Linked DNA regions of Homo sapiens: region 2 is linked to region 1. Evidence: promoter capture Hi-C in 16 types of primary human blood cells and fetal thymus (Javierre and others, 2016). All regions are on one chromosome and are shown on one strand. Each heading gives the region's core, a stretch centred on a gene start or on the middle of the fragment in contact. The rest is flanking DNA. Distances are from core to core; before and after follow the strand shown. Region 1 holds the start of CT62 (cancer/testis associated 62). Region 2 overlaps THSD4 (thrombospondin type 1 domain containing 4).

Region 1 (2,794 bases), core at 87-2,586:
ATGGTGTTTCTTTCTTTGGCCTAATCTCTTGAGTAGCCTCTTTCCCTTTTGTTAATTTTTTTTTTTTTCTGGAGGACAATCTTCCCTGGGAGCTCCCTTCTGCTCCCACGAAGCGCTCTGCACCCAGCCCTGGTGCTGCCTGGCTCTGGGGCAGGGAGCTTGCATTCTGCCACCTCCTTCATTGTCCTCTCGGTATACCTGCACTTTCAAAACAACCCCTGCAGGCAAGCTTTAGAGGCAGCGATAAACAAACAGGCTGACTGAAATTTAGGGAAACGCCTGTATCTGGACAGCCTCTTCAAATATTTGTCACCCCCTCCCTGCTCTGGGGAAAGAAGAGACAGTTCCTCACAGTCACTCTATTTCCTGCCTTCCCAGCTCTGAACACCTTGGCTCGAATGTAAAGAATTTGGCTCTGAATTAGGACTCAAGAAACGGGGCCCTAGCAATTTTCCCTCCATTAACTAAACGCGTCACTTTGGTCATGCCCTTTTGGGGGCAATAATTTCCCAATTCGTAAAATGAAGGGATCAAAGTTTGATTTTTATCATTACTAATGAGAAGAATTATTATTTTTTTGCAGCAGGCTTTTTTTTCCCCAACAAAATATTACTCTGAATAAGACAAGAAAGAATCCCGAACGGCTCTGGCCGTCAGGGTGTGTGTGTCTCCTCCCCATGCTGTCTAACCCCCGTTGGAATTTGGAGGGCTCTTGTCCTTTCCCCTTGGCCTCAGAAGGAGCCCAGCGCGTCCTACCTTGCGTGGGAGTGTGTGTGTGACCAGGGCTCCTTCCTGCCCTTAGAGTCACCGCCCCCTTCTCGCACAGGTTTACAGCACCACTTGCCTCGCCCACTCCCCGCTTTGCCTCCGCCCCATCCTGATGCTGCCGGAATGGCTGTTCCAAATGGAAGGATGCCCGCGTCCGTCCCCTGCCCCAGTCCTTCAACAGGTCCCCACAGACCTCAGGATAAGATGAACGCGGAATTCAGGGCCTGGTCTCAACCGCCCTCTCCCTTTTCCTCTCACTTAGACGACCCTGGCCAGCTGGGCCACTCTCCACTCTCGCCCCCTCCCGCCCTCGTGGCCTCTGTCTAGACCGTACTCCCTCCTACTGGGTGATGTCTCTTCCCCTGGGACCCAGGGACCATCCCGTTGTTGACCTCCGGGGTCAGGGGTGCGGATGGGGGCCGGCCCTTCCCGCGGTCGCCGCCAGGGGGCGGCAGGAGCGGCTCCAGATGACAGCGGGAGGCCGCAAGAGGGGAGGGAGGAAGGACCGAGGGAGCGCGGATCCCGCTCTCGGATCGCAAACTCTGAGCCAGAGCTCTCCGCGCGCGCCTGAACCGCTGGCCGCCCGCGCAGCCCGACGCGGAATCGGGGCACAGCGGGAGCCCGTGCAGGGCGGGCGCGGGGCGGCTGGGCGGCGGTGGCGGCCGTCCATGCGGCGGCGCTCGGGGCTGCCCGGCGCCGGGAACCACGCGGGGGCGAGGCGAGGCGAGGCGGCCGCCGGTCGCTCCGGGACGCGGACCGCCAGGTGAGCAGAGCCGCGCGCCCCGCGTCCCCTGCGCGCCGCCCGCGCGGCCCCGACCCGGCTTCCGCTGCCCAGGCTCCGGCTCCCGCTCTCTGGCCGGCGGGGCGGGCTGGCGCGGGCTACCCAGTGGGTGTGTCCGGGGCGCCGCGGGCTGCGCCGCTCCGGGCTCGGGGAGCCAGCGCGCGCCTGGTCCGTGCGGACGGCTGCGCCTCCTTCTCTGGTTCTCTTCCTTGCTGGGAGTCTTGCTCTGTGCTGGCGCCGGCGCTCATCCCTCCACCCTCGACTCTAGGGACAGTCTTAAACTCTAGGGACAATCCACCTCAGTCGTCCCCGGGTCGGGGCCCCGTGCTCCCCGGGTCGGGTCGGAGGGGACCGGCGAGTGCACACCCAGCCCGTGCGCCCCCCACCTCAGCCTCGCCTCCCTCCCGCCTGGGGCCCGAGAGCCGGGCAAGTCTCGGTCAGCGCTCCTTGAGTCCTGGCCTGGGGCCTCGGATCTGTGTGTCTGTCTGTCTCAGTTTAGTTGCTGCAACCCAGCGAGCGCCTGGAGCCCGAGTGGATGGGTTGTTTCCGCCAACTCTGGACACTTCCTCAAGTGCAGCCTAAGTACCTGCGGCCCCTTGGCGCACTTACAGAAGTAGCTTTTGCACAGCGAGCTCACCTTGGAGCTCTACAGATCTGGAAGTTAAGTTTTCTTTTTATTTGAAATAACATCAGCCCTCACTTGGGAAGGGGATTTTAGGGCGTTCTCGGGCCCACCTAAGTATCTGGAATTTGTGGTCTAGTAAGTTTTTTAAGCAGTCCGCACCCAGCACCGTACCTCCCAGCCTCCTTTGCCGTCTTACTAAAAGTGCATGCTTGCTTCTCTTCCTGTCTCCTTTGCGATCTCTACCACGCTGCGCTTCGCCCTTTTCGGGCTATGAGTCTAAAGCTTGGACGTGGGTAGCAATCATTGGATGCCTGTTGGAATTTGGAATTAGAGAAATAGATACCCGAGAGAGATCTAAGGAATCGCCTTGTCCAACCCTCCTTTCACAGTTGGAGGCACCCAGGACCCCTGACAGTCTGAAGATTTTTCAAGGATCACACAGCTTTTAAAATCCGCGTGTCTTCTACTTGATTAATATTGTTGGAGGTGATGGAGTAACTGGGCTTACTAGGGTCTTACTGGGTCTCAATATACAAAGAAGCAAACATTTTAAAAATGTGACTTAAAATACGGAACTCTTCAATTCCTATAGATTTTTGTTGGCATCATAGTTGAATTCC
Region 2 (3,155 bases), core at 620-3,119, 230 kb after region 1:
ATGTAAGCACATATTTATTATGTGTGTATTTCTGTATTCATCTGTATATTAAAAATTGTCAGTTCACACACATCTCAAATTCCGAATAACATCATAAGTTTCATTTTCATTTTCTTTTTTTTTTTTTTTTTTTTTTTGAGACGGAGTCTCACTCTGTTGCCCAGGTTGGAGTGCAATGGTGTGATCTCGGCTCACCGCAGCCTCCGCCTCCTGGGTTCAAGCAATTCTCCTGCCTCCGCTTCCTGAGTAGCTGAGATTACAGGCGCGTGCCACCACACCTGGCTAATTTTTGTATTTTTAGTAGAGACAGGGTTTCACCATGCTGGCCAGGCTGGTCTCGAACTCCCGACCTCAGGCGATCTGCCCGCCTCGGTGTCCCAAAGTGCTGGGATTACAGGTGTGAGCCACCGTGCCCGGCTCATTCTCATTTTCTCTCTTTCTGCAGTTGTAACTCTCTTCTCTGGCCATGAGAAATCTAGGTTCCATTATCTTTTATATTTTTACTGTGTACTCCGTCACCCTGAATGTAATCAATTTCACATCACCACTGTCCCCCTGCCCTATGTAGATGCCCAGTTAGCACCATGTCACCCTCCCTCATATGTGGATGCCATCTCCCTGCCACTAGGGCTCTGACACCTTGCCCTGGGCCACTGCCAGATGGACATCTCCCTTGCATGGCTGCTGAACACACACTTGTAAAGGCAAGGAGTTTGACTTTATCAAGGTCTCTACTTTCTATCTATATACATTTATTCATTCAAGCATTTCTGCCTTACTTGACTGATAACTTTGGTGTCCCATCGATTACCCTTCTTTTGGCGGGGATCCTCCTGGTCCTCTTTAGACTTGCAGGTACAGGGGCTGCCATGGGGTTTTTATATACCTGTGCAGTCCAATGTGCTAGCCAGTAGTCCCATATCAAAATTTAAAATTCAGTTTCTCACTTGTGCTAGCTGTGTTTTTAGTGCTGAATAGCCGCATATGACTAGTGGCTACCATGTTGGACAGTGTAGATATAGAACATTTCCATCATCACAGAAAGTTCTCTTGTTCTCCTAACTTAACATTGATCCTTCTCTGACTTCAACTTAATTTTTCAGTGTTCAGATGATCAGCCGGACCACCCAAACACTCAGCAGTCCTTCATGCTAACTAGCCCGTCTCCATACCCACATAATAACAATTTCAGTAATCTTACCCTCTGCATACTCATTCCCAATACCCATGGGTCTATCCCTGTTGCCCCAGACCATCCATAATACATGATCTGCAAAGGGAACAGAGTGTTTGAAACTGAGACTATTTTGTAAAATCTTGGACATGTAGTTGCGATAATATAAAATGAGAGTAGTTAAAATCTTGCTTTTCTGAGCTTTTGAAATGCTTGTTTTCAGGTCATCCCTGGGAATCTCAGTTCCAGGTTGTCTTTTCGGCTCCTCAATACCCAACCCTTTTGTAGAGCCTCCTCCTCCAGACCAGTGCTTTTCAAACTTTAATGTGCGGAAGAACCACTGAAAACTGTTGTTAGAATGCAGGTTCTGATTCAGTAGGTCCACATGAACCTGCGATTCTGCATTTTAATGAACCTCAATTGATGCTGTTGTTGCTGCTCTGAGGACCATGCCAACAGGCCCCGAATGTCTGCCATATGGAAGCTCAGAATTGTCAACACTCCCTCTGCTTTTCCTTTGTCTTCCCTCAGAACACCTGCTCACCATGACCTGTACATCCAGGTGAGTGTTGGTTTTCAACAGAGATACCTTGCGAGTCTGTGCTCTGGCAATGCCACCACTCCAGAAAACAGCTCAGAGCTTAGCTCTTAGTTGTGTTCAGAGCCCGATTGAGCTAAAGAAGGGACAACTCTCTGTTTTATAGTCACACCTAATCTAATGGCTGTTGTAGCCTTTGATTAAAACTTATGCTTCCCAATACAAATTGTTGCTCCAGATTTGGTCCCAAAGGATACGACTGTTAGCAAAAACCAAATTTACCTGCTAAAGGATGAGCTATTTAAAAGGAATGTGTCACTTGCTGTGTAACTGCATTCCAACAAGGAGTTACATAAATGTTTTGAGACAGCAGCATCTTTGGAGTAAGTGCCAAGCCTCCAGAGGAACCCTGGTAAAGGGAAGCAGTGGTCTCATTTGGATATGCAGGTTCTTGCATTTTTGTTATGAAATCTACTCTCCTTTGAAGTTACCTCTTGTATTGTAATCTCTATAGTAATCCATTCTGTATTTCAGACATAAATTCTCTTTTTCTGGGCCATCCTTCCTATCTGTGTTCACAAGTCCATGCCATCTGCCAACATTTTGCCACGTGGAGTGGTAGGAAAACCAGGACAGGAGCAAGCTGACCCAGCTTCAAATCCCATTTCAATTGTTAGCAGTGAGATCATAGGCAATTTCTTAACTTCTCTGACCTTCAGTATTCTAATTAAAAACAAGGCTACTCTGAGTTACAGGGATTAAAGTAGATATGTTGTATACAAAATGTAAATTGGATACAGAAGTGGCCAGCCCAGAAAAGCACCTAAAATTGTTGTTTCCCTTTCTTATTTTTTTCTCTTTAGTATTAATTACTTCTTTGCTTAATTCATTCCTTCTTCATTCACATGCGTACATTTGCACAATGTAGAAAACAAAGATGACACGAGCCTGTTCACTTCTCCACATGCCTGTCCATCTCCCCCTGCCCCTATCAACATGTCTTGAAGGTGTGGCCACTGGCCGTTTGCATCACCTTTCTGTCTACGTAGCACCTGTCAGTGACCCCTGACCCCAGAGCACCTGCCCTTAGCCTTGAGAAGCCTGTATTTTCCCTGCTGGGCTCACCTCTGGGAGGTAGCATTCCCATTGTCTCTTCACTGGATGGCACTCTCACAGGTTAAAAGTGGGCCACACCCAGCAGTAGCCAAAGACCACTGTAGGAAGAACAAGATTGCTGAGTTAGTTTTTGATTTTCTTTTGCTTTCACATGTTTTGGAGAAATGGGATGAGGCTGCATGTGCTTAGGTTTGAGTTTGGGATGGGATAGGGGTCCTTACTCTTAGAGGCAGCAGGGGTTTGTAAGGGTAACAGAGATTCAGTGTGGGCCCAGGGAAGGGGGAGCTGAAACACAGCTGGTCTCAGGAAGGAGGTGGAGGGCGAAAG

Evidence for each region. The method cuts DNA at HindIII sites, captures the fragments that hold promoters and counts their contacts. A CHiCAGO score of 5 or more calls a contact.
Region 2: a fragment that was not itself captured here is called in contact with the fragment with the promoter of CT62 in region 1 in 1 of 17 cell types (endothelial precursors); the score reaches 7.7 in endothelial precursors.

The regions. Positions count from the first base shown.
Region 1 is chr15:71,114,168-71,116,961 of GRCh38, forward strand. It overlaps CT62 (cancer/testis associated 62), which reads right to left and starts at 1,337. Exons shown (of 4, transcript NR_168260.1): 1 at 757-1,337. THSD4 (thrombospondin type 1 domain containing 4) reads left to right here and starts at 1,304. Exons shown (of 18, transcript NM_024817.3): 1 at 1,304-1,531. RefSeq lists silencers at 1,118-1,167, 1,204-1,381, 1,228-1,287, 1,318-1,457, 1,608-1,697. The HindIII fragment of the contact is 2,227 bases long and covers 228-2,454 here.
Region 2 is chr15:71,346,755-71,349,909 of GRCh38, forward strand. All of the region lies in intron 6 of THSD4 (thrombospondin type 1 domain containing 4), which reads left to right. Among named protein-coding and RNA genes, the nearest start is that of THSD4-AS1, 160 kb to the left of the region's middle. The HindIII fragment of the contact is 4,102 bases long and covers 1-3,155 here.